Regions from separate parts of the Homo sapiens genome. Here all the other regions are linked to region 2. The links are contacts of gene promoters, found by promoter capture Hi-C in human tissues and cell types (Jung and others, 2019). All regions are on one chromosome and are shown on one strand. The core of a region is centred on a gene start or on the middle of the fragment in contact, and the rest is flanking DNA. Distances in the headings are between cores, read along the strand shown. Region 1 holds the start of NPAS1 (neuronal PAS domain protein 1). Region 2 holds the start of FKRP (fukutin related protein). Region 3 overlaps ZC3H4 (zinc finger CCCH-type containing 4).

Region 1 (3,016 bases), core at 149-2,648, 270 kb before region 2:
AGAACATCGGGTGTGAATTGGACCCGGGGGGGGGCCCGCGGCCAGGGGGGCGGGGCTTTGCTCACCACGGTCCGGACGGCGCCTTGACCATCAGCCCGGGTAGAAAGTCCCAGGGGACGCTGGCGCCGCGGCCTCCCACGCATTTGACCTCGCTTCCGCCGCCACTGCCGGGATAGGGGGCCGCCATCTCCGGGGGGCTCGCTCAGGCGGGCTCCGAGCCCCGAGTCTCCTGCAGCGGGAGGGGGCCAGGGGCAACGCTTAGTGCCCTCGGGAGACCTTCTAGGGAAACTGAGATCCGTGCAGGGCTCAGGGTCCCAGCAAGGAGCTGGGGGGGGGGGGGCCTGGATGATGCCTCAGTTTCCCCTACCTGGAGGCCTCAGCTCCCACCCTAGCCGGCCCGGGGCTGGCGCTCCGGGTGAGGACGTGCCCCGCCGCCGCCTCCCCCGCGCCGCCCGCCAGCGCGCCCGCCTCACGCCCGCGCCGGGCCGGCTCCCGCATACCAATGGGCGCACGCGGCGCGCATACGGATCGAACCGGCCCGCGCGCTGCGTGCCAAGCATGCCCAAGCCGGGCGGGGGGCGGGCGCCTCCCGGGCCAGGCACGCACGCCCCAGCCCCCGGAGCCCTCTGCCCCGAGGACCCGCCCCCCAAGCCCATCCCCGGTGTCTGACTCCCCGGATCTGCACCCTGTTTTCCCGGCTGGGCTAAGGAGGCAGGGGGCAGAGGGCAGGGACCCCCATCCTGTGTCCTGCCCAGGGATCCCCCCAGCCTCTCGGGATGGCGCCACGTGTTCGGACCGCCACATCCCCACGACCACAACTTCCTCCCTGAAGACCCCGGCGCGCGAGCCCCAGCCCCGGACGCAGCCGCCGCAGCCTCTGCCCCAGGACGCCCCCAGGATTGACCCGACACTCGGGGCCCAGGTGTCCTGGTCTCCTGATCCCCTAACGTTTTCAGTTAGGTCTTCATTCCTCCAGGACCAGGCGTTCAGAACACCCCCTAACCCCAGGAACCAGGCCGCCCCCAAACCTCCCAGCCAGGTGTCCAGATGCCCCAGACCCCCGTGTCCAGGTCTCCCAACCCCAGATTTCTCCAGGACTCAAACATCCGTGCGCCCCTTCCCCCAGGCTCGGGATACCCTCGTCCCACCCCCTATCCCCCAGGACACTGGAGTTCCAGCCCCCCATTCCTCTGGGACCCAGAAGTCCCCCTCCTGCCAGCCCGCAAGCTTCCCCTACCCGCAGGACCGCCAGTCCGATTACTTGGCCGCAGAGCAGGCTCCGGGCGCGGCGTGGGGCCGGCCGGGCGGCGCGGAGGGGCAGCTCCATAGACCCCGGGGCGCGCGGGGCGCAGCGGGACGCGCGGGCTGTGGCGCCCAGCTCTCGGCGCCCACCTCGGCCTCGCAGACTTGGAGACGCGCGACCAGCGCTGCGGGCGGGGGCGGGGTCTGCCGGAGCCCCGCCCGCCGCGTCTCCGCCCCCGGACCCGCCCTGCTCGCCTTTCCCTGGTAGGGGGCCAAGCTACCCTGGGGTCCGAGTTCCCTTGCCCCACGGTAACGTCGGGGGTCAGAATGTAGCACCTCGGATCGGAGCTACCCCACTCCAAAAGGGGAACAGCGGAGTCCGGGCACTGTCTACACCCCTTCAGGAGGCAGTTAGTGCCCCAGCAGCCCCTCGGGACAAGACAGGTACCCTGCAGCCGAGCCCCATGTACGAGTGAAGACTCACGTCAGTGCTTCCTCCAGGGACACAAATCCAGAATTCGAGACCCTCCCTTTCCGGGAGAGAACTCCTGAGTGTCAGCACACTCTCCCCCCACAGGGCTGGGACTTCGCATCCAAACCCAACCCGCCTTAAAAGGGGGACATACACCTCCCTCGTCAGGGACCAGGATCCAGCTCTCTAAGGAGCTCCAGAGACCAGGATCCTGGCGTCTTATCTCCATCCCCCGCCGCAGGGACGGGAACCCTTACATCCAAGCTCCCCATTAGATCATAAATGGGAACTCAGGGGTTGTAGTACCTCGCACAGAGGACGGGAACCCAGGCGTCCAAGCCAGGCCTTCCCCAGTCTGATAGGAGGTCCTACAGTTCCCCTAGCTCCTTCTCTCCATGCAGCCCCCACTTCCCGTTCTCAGGGTCCTCCCTGGCATGGGGGTCTCCAGGCACTTAAAAGCCTCTACATGACCTTAACATGGGGAAAGAAAATGGAGCTGGGGCCGGGCGCGGTGGCTTACACCTATAATCCCAGCACCTTGGGAGGCCAGGGCGGTTGGATCACCCGAGGTCAGGAGTTCAAGGCCAGCCTGGCCAACATAGTGAAACCCTGTCTCTACTAAAAATACAAAAATTAGCCGGGTGTGGTGGTGGGCGCCTGTAATCCCAGCTACTCGGGAGGCTGAGGCAGGAAAATCCCTTGAACCTGGGAGGCGGAGGTTGCAGTGAGCCGAGATCCCGCCACTGCGCTCCAGCCCGGGTCAGAGAAGGAGAGTCCATTTCGAAAGAAAAGAAAAGAAAAAGAAAATGGAGCAGGGAGTCTTAGAAGAGGCATACAGTCAGGGGCTTGCAGGGAGCACGCGCTGGCCTTTGGTTGGGCAGATGGGGAAACTGAGGCACACACAAACACCCGTGTGCATTTGCTCACAACACACAAACTCATTCATGATCCTCATAGTTAACACTTAAGGGAGTGCTTGTTTTTTGCTAATACTTTATTTTATAGCAAGATTCTGAGATGGGCTCTGTTACTAGATGCATTTTACAACTAGGGAAACCGAGACATGGGGAAGTGATATAGCCTGGTGATAGTGGCCTCTCAGACAACAGATCCTTATTTATCCCCAGAGAGACTTGCTAGAGTTTCAGGGCAAGGAATCAAGCTCAGATCATGGGCTCCTGTCTCCTGACAGCACTTCCTGGCTGTGCAGCCTGGGCAGGTGCTATGCCAGCCATGAGAGGTACACTTGTGCCATTAATTAATTAATTAATTATTTTTGAGACACAGTCTTCTCGCTCTGTC
Region 2 (2,700 bases), core at 87-2,586:
AAAAATCCCCTCCTTTGTTGGGCTTGGTTCCTAGGGTCACTCGAAGGGGGCTGCTCTATTATCATAGTAACCAGGCCTTGAACTTGCCTGTTTCTCACCTTCCGGAGGAAGGTCCAGGCCCTGTAACCATAGCAACTGCCCCTCAGCAGAGCATCTCCTCTAAATAAAAACACCTGGTTAGTTTGGTGCATGGGCCTCCCACGATGGGAAGGGGAAGACGGTTACCATGGTAATGCCAACTAGGTGGCTATGGGGGAGGGGCTGGGGAAGAGGTGCTTCTCTTAGAGATCAGTGTCCTTGGGGCTGGGGTCCTTTCTACCTGAATGCTAGGTGGGGGGGAGGTTGCCATAGTAATCAATGAGGATAGGAGCAGAAGGACCACCACGGACACTTAGGTTACCTTAGCAACCTTCTCCTGGTGCAGAGTCCTAAGAGGTTTGGGGCTCCATAACCACAAAGGTGGAAGCGAGGGGAAGGCTGCTCCCCACCACCTCGCCCCCACCGCTGGGGAAGGGTTACCATGACAACCAACCTGGCCGGCAATCAGAGAGGATGGGGCCACTGCTGGTCGCCCTTTCTCTCAGAGTAAAAGTAATTGTCCAGGAGAGTGGTGTTTGGGTGTGGAAGGGGTAAGGCTCTTTCTCTGGGGCGAAGTGGGAGGAGGGGGGCAGAAAGCGGCCCCTTCCTCAGTCTCACTCCAGCGAGGGGGACCGTCGCGCGGGGCCTGGGTCTCCCTCGCCCTCCTCGGGGCGCGATCTCCCACCCGCCGGCCCCCGCGCGGGCACGCTACCCTTCGGTGTAGACCCGGGTGGGCGAGGCTCGCGCTCGCCGCCGGCCCCCCTTCCTACTGTCCCCCGCCGGGCGCGCGCGCGGTGGTTGCGGCGGGGGAGGGGGGGGGGTGTTGGCGCGGCCGCGCAGGCGCGCGAGGCACAGCGGGCGCGCAGGCCGGCCCCGGGGCCTCCATGATGGAGGAGCGAGCGGCCGCCGCGGTCGCCGCCGCCGCCTCCTCCTGCCGTCCGCTCGGCTCAGGCGCGGGCCCTGGCCCCACTGGGGCGGCCCCGGTCTCCGCCCCTGCCCCCGGGCCGGGCCCGGCAGGTAAGGGAGGCGGCGGCGGAGGCAGCCCCGGGCCCACGGCGGGCCCGGAGCCCCTGAGCCTGCCGGGGATCCTGCACTTTATCCAGCACGAGTGGGCGCGCTTCGAAGCCGAGAAAGCCCGCTGGGAGGCCGAGCGCGCCGAGTTACAGGTGAGCGCTGTCCCGGGACCCCCGACCCCCAACCCGGCCCGGCCCGGCCCGGCCTCACCCGCTGCCGCCGCCGCCGCCATCTTGGAGCAATGGCCGCCGGGACGGCCGGCGGGGGGGCGGGAGGGGACCGCGACGGTCCCGGAGGGCGAGTGAGGGGCCGTCCGAGGGGTGTCCTGAGGGCACTCCGGGGTGGGACGGGACCGGGACGGCCCGAGGTGGGAGTGGAGGGACCGGGGGTGGGAGGGATCACCGGGACCGGCCGAGAGAAAGGGGCGGAGGGACCACAACCAGCTGGGAGTGGGACTGGGACTGGGACTGAGCACGCTGGCCGCGGGGCTCCTGAGAGAGGCGACTCGAGCCCTGGAGGGGAGGCTAAGAGAACTCGGGAAAGGGTGTGGAGAGGAGCTGGAGGGGTCTGGGAGACCTGAGTGGTCTCCTGTGGGAGTAAGCAGAAGCTTGCCGGGCGCCGAGGGACTCCCGACCCCGACCCCGACCATGGCCCTAGCCAGGTGCAGGTTGGAGGTGGGAGCGTCCAAGGGGGGAACTTGGGACCCGCTGGGAAAGAGCGGGTCCAGATGGGGAACCGGGAGGATTTAGGGAGAGGAAGTCGGGAACCTGGGATCGGTGTGTTTCGGGGCGACTGGACGGTGGGCACGGAAGGAGGGCTGTGTAAGGACCCGAGGGGTGGGAGGAGGGTTTCAAGGGGTCCAGGATGAAGGTGTGTGCCTTCCCCTCTGAGGAGAAACTTTGGGGATCCCGGGCATGTGTGGCTGCACAGTGCAGGGAAGGGTTCTTTGGAGTGGAAGTGTGGACAGAGCAGGGAATGTACCCTAGGAGCCTGGATGGGAGAGCTTAAGAGTGGAAGTTCCACTTTGGGGGTGTGCAGGAGTGGGCGCGATGGCACTGAGATGGCACGTGTGTTGTAGGATGTAGGTAGAGAGCCCTGAACTGGAGTGTGGGGTGTTGGGCATGTCCAGTATGGAGGTGAGGGTCCTGGGATGGTGCCAATGAGGACGAGTTAGGGGTTACCCTGGGGTGATGCTTTAGGGGGGAGAATTTTGTAGAGCCCGAAGGCAACATGAGGAGGCATCTCGGAACGGGGGTAGACTGGGGTTGGGGGGAAGGGGATATGTTTGTGGAAGTCTTGGGAAAAGACCCCGTGGTTTTTGGGGTAGCTTGGGACAGGGATGTTGAATGGAAGAGTCTGAGGAGTTGGGCTAGGGTTTGTGACCTCGTGGAGCGTCAGGTCCATTGGCAGTGACTGGAGGACCATGGAGATGTCCGGATTTGAAGGGATCAGGAATGGCCCGCTGGAAGTCTGAAGATTCTTGGACTGGGTTATTATTAGCAGAAATTGTCATTACCTGCTTGTAGCAGCCCACCTTTCCCCTTCCGATTTGCCGTTTGCTATCTAGTAGGAAGCTGGTACCCAAATAAATAGCTGATGAGAATTGTG
Region 3 (2,700 bases), core at 121-2,620, 360 kb before region 2:
GGCCTTGTCTTTGCTGCAGAACGCTTTTGCTTTTAGGAGTTAATGCAGATGCAGTTTTGAAGACATTGTGTACAGTTTCACTGGTGATGTAATGAGGTGCGATAGGCAGTTTATTTTAAATAGATTTCTGGCACATCACCCATTGGGGTGACTCTTAGTAGTTGTTGACAAAAATGAAGATACGGCCTCTTGGTTGGTGCTAGATTTAGTTGTGTCCTGTTACTTTTTTTTTTTTTTTTTCTTAACAGAACGCAGGATTATTTGCTGAGAGCATAGTTTGCTGCTTCTGGCCAAACTGGTCTGCATAAAGGATCTTTCTCGTGTATTTTTTTTGCCATTTCGCATCTGTGTGAATAGGTGACTCAGTGCCCTGTTTGTCAGGCAAGTGGTGACATCTTTTTGAATGTCGGAGGTGGCAACAGGATGTGGAGGAAGACTGTGGACTTTGGAGCCAGATAAAACTGTTCAGGCCTGGCTTCTCCCCGGCAGTGTGCAGTAGGCATCGAGTATAAAATGCCCACTTCTCAGGGTCCTTGTGGTCAAATGAGTGCATTTGGGGACACCCACACAATGCCAGCATTCAGTGAATCTTCCTGCTTTCCCTACTAGAGAAGAATTTGAAACAGAACTTTTACAGTTGGTGTATAAACAGAAGTAAGAATAACATCTATTTTTGAAGGAAGTGCATTTATCTTTCATCTCTTAGGGTTCTGGTCAGCTTATTTAATTGCAGGGAGCCAATTGGGGTTGACACTAAGTGGAAGCCATCTTAAGATATTTCTTGCTTGCTCAGTGTCTTTTTATGGATGCTCAAATGGTCATACTGTCTGGAGCTTAATGCTGACTGTACCTCCTGTGTTCATCTTTTGCAATTAGAGTCCGAGTCAGTGCTGTAGTCTCAGTAGGGCTTCTGAGAACTGGGAAGCCAGGGATCTAGAATCTCATACCACTGCAAACTAGTCAGTTTCCCCACGCAAGTCCTTTACTCTCTCCAGAGGGGAATGAACAAGGTCTCATCCAGCTCCAGGATTCTTCACTCCTTTGGGATCTGGCTGAGTCAGATAAGGTTTTGTTCATTCAGTAACTGAGTTCCTCCCCGGCTTTTCTTGGAGCCCAAGAGTTTTCTGAGTGTGCAGAGAACCCTTCTATCATGAAGACTTTATTTAGAGTCGGGCTAGGGTTGTTACTGCCTTTACCAGGCTTCGTATTCCCTTCCTCTGTGTCTGGCCTACCTTCTACAGTTTCTGGCCACGATAAAGGGTTGCTGCTGCTGCTTGCAGCTTACTAATATGCACTTGGAAAGCAGATGCCTTAATTAATTTGAAGGTTAGGCTCAGTGGCTAGATCACAGGCAGGCCCATCAGGTTCCTGGTCATGCCTGTCAGTTGTCCCAGAAAGGATAGAGTGAACTCCAGAGCCAAAAGCTTTGTTTTTTCTCTTTTATTGAGACAGGGTTTTGCTCTGTTGCCCAGGCTGGAATGCAGTGGCACCTCATAGTATTAATAGCTCACTGCAGCCTCGAACTCTTGGCTTCAATGATCCTCCACCTCAGCCTCCCAAAGTGCTGGGATTACAGGTATAAGCCACCATGTCTGCCTGGGTGCTGCCATGTTCTCTCCACACGGGATTGGCCCTCTGCTGAGAGTGATGGGTGGTGGACAGCTATGGTTGGGGGAGTTAGGCAAACTGGATGTGATTCTTGAGTTCATCTCCTAAGTCAGTGTCTTTGTCTTTCCGAAGGGGCAACAGTGCCATTTGTGCACAATTGACCTGAAGGTCAAAGATTATCTGCCAGAGCCCTTCTGAGTGCTTCTCATGCATTAGCTCATTTAACCTTTACCTCTGCTGTTTGAGGAGAAACCAAAACAGAGAGGTGAAGTCACTTGTCCCAGGTCACAAAACAAGTGTGTGCTGCAGGCAGAGTTAGAACCCGGGGTGGCTGGTACTCAGACCCCATCTCTATACATACCATTATACTGTGGTGGATCTGGTGTGCTATTTTTCAGACTGTGGGGTATAGCCACTAGTGGGATATGAAGTCCAATTATTGATCTTTTTCTTTTGCATTGGAAAACCAAGGAAATGGAAGAGGAGAGAAAAAGCAGAATGCATTTAAATGTGGCTTCTGGAAACTTTTGTTTGGGAGAAATGCAAAGAAGCAGATGTGGGTCAGTGTCAAAAAGTGTGAAAGCCGTTGCATCCAGGCTAGGGGTCGGCAAACTATGATTCTCGGGCCAAAGCCAGCCCACCCAGCCTGTTTTTGTAGGTAAAGTGTTTTTTTGTTGGTTTGTGTTGTTTTGAGACAGAATCTTGCTCTGTCACCCAGGCTGGAGTGCGGTGGCATGATCTTGGCTCACTGCAACCTCTGCCTCCTGGTTCAAGGGATTCTCCTGCTTCAGCCTCCTGAGTAGCTGGGATTACAGGCGCACACCACATGCTCAGCTAATTTCTGTGTTTTTAGTAGAGATGGGGTTTCACCGTGTTGGCCAGGCTGGTCTTGAACTCGTGACCTCGAGTGATCCACCCTCCTTGGCCTCCCAAAGTGATAGGATTACAGGTATGAGCCACCGCGCCTGGCCAGTAGGTAAAGTTTATTGGCACACAGCCATACTCATTCATTTATATCATCAGTGGCTGCTTCTACGTTACAGCAGCAGAGTTGAGTAGAAAGTTGCTGCCCACCACGTGATATGGTATGCA

What was found. The method cuts DNA at HindIII sites, captures the fragments that hold promoters and counts their contacts. A contact is called where the count stands out against the background at its distance.
Region 1: a contact is called between the fragment with the promoter of NPAS1 here and the fragment with the promoter of FKRP in region 2, in 3 of the 25 tissues and cell types used here (H1 embryonic stem cells, liver and stomach).
Region 3: a fragment that was not itself captured here is called in contact with the fragment with the promoter of FKRP in region 2 in 1 of the 25 tissues and cell types used here (bladder).

The regions. Positions count from the first base shown.
Region 1 is chr19:47,018,219-47,021,234 of GRCh38, reverse strand. NPAS1 (neuronal PAS domain protein 1) reads right to left here and starts at 1,398. Exons shown (of 12, transcript NM_002517.4): 1 at 1,238-1,398; 2 at 66-229. The coding sequence starts at 187. RefSeq lists a silencer at 1,402-1,461. The HindIII fragment of the contact is 24,576 bases long and covers 382-3,016 here.
Region 2 is chr19:46,744,693-46,747,392 of GRCh38, reverse strand. FKRP (fukutin related protein) reads right to left here and starts at 1,336. Exons shown (of 4, transcript NM_024301.5): 1 at 1,303-1,336. It overlaps STRN4 (striatin 4), which reads left to right and starts at 943. Exons shown (of 18, transcript NM_013403.3): 1 at 943-1,244. The coding sequence starts at 963. RefSeq lists silencers at 518-567, 608-707, 748-897, 908-957, 1,168-1,397. The HindIII fragment of the contact is 7,098 bases long and covers 1-2,700 here.
Region 3 is chr19:47,105,198-47,107,897 of GRCh38, reverse strand. The region is part of intron 2 of ZC3H4 (zinc finger CCCH-type containing 4); the gene reads left to right. Among named protein-coding and RNA genes, the nearest start is that of ZC3H4, 7.2 kb to the left of the region's middle. The HindIII fragment of the contact is 3,689 bases long and covers 1-2,700 here.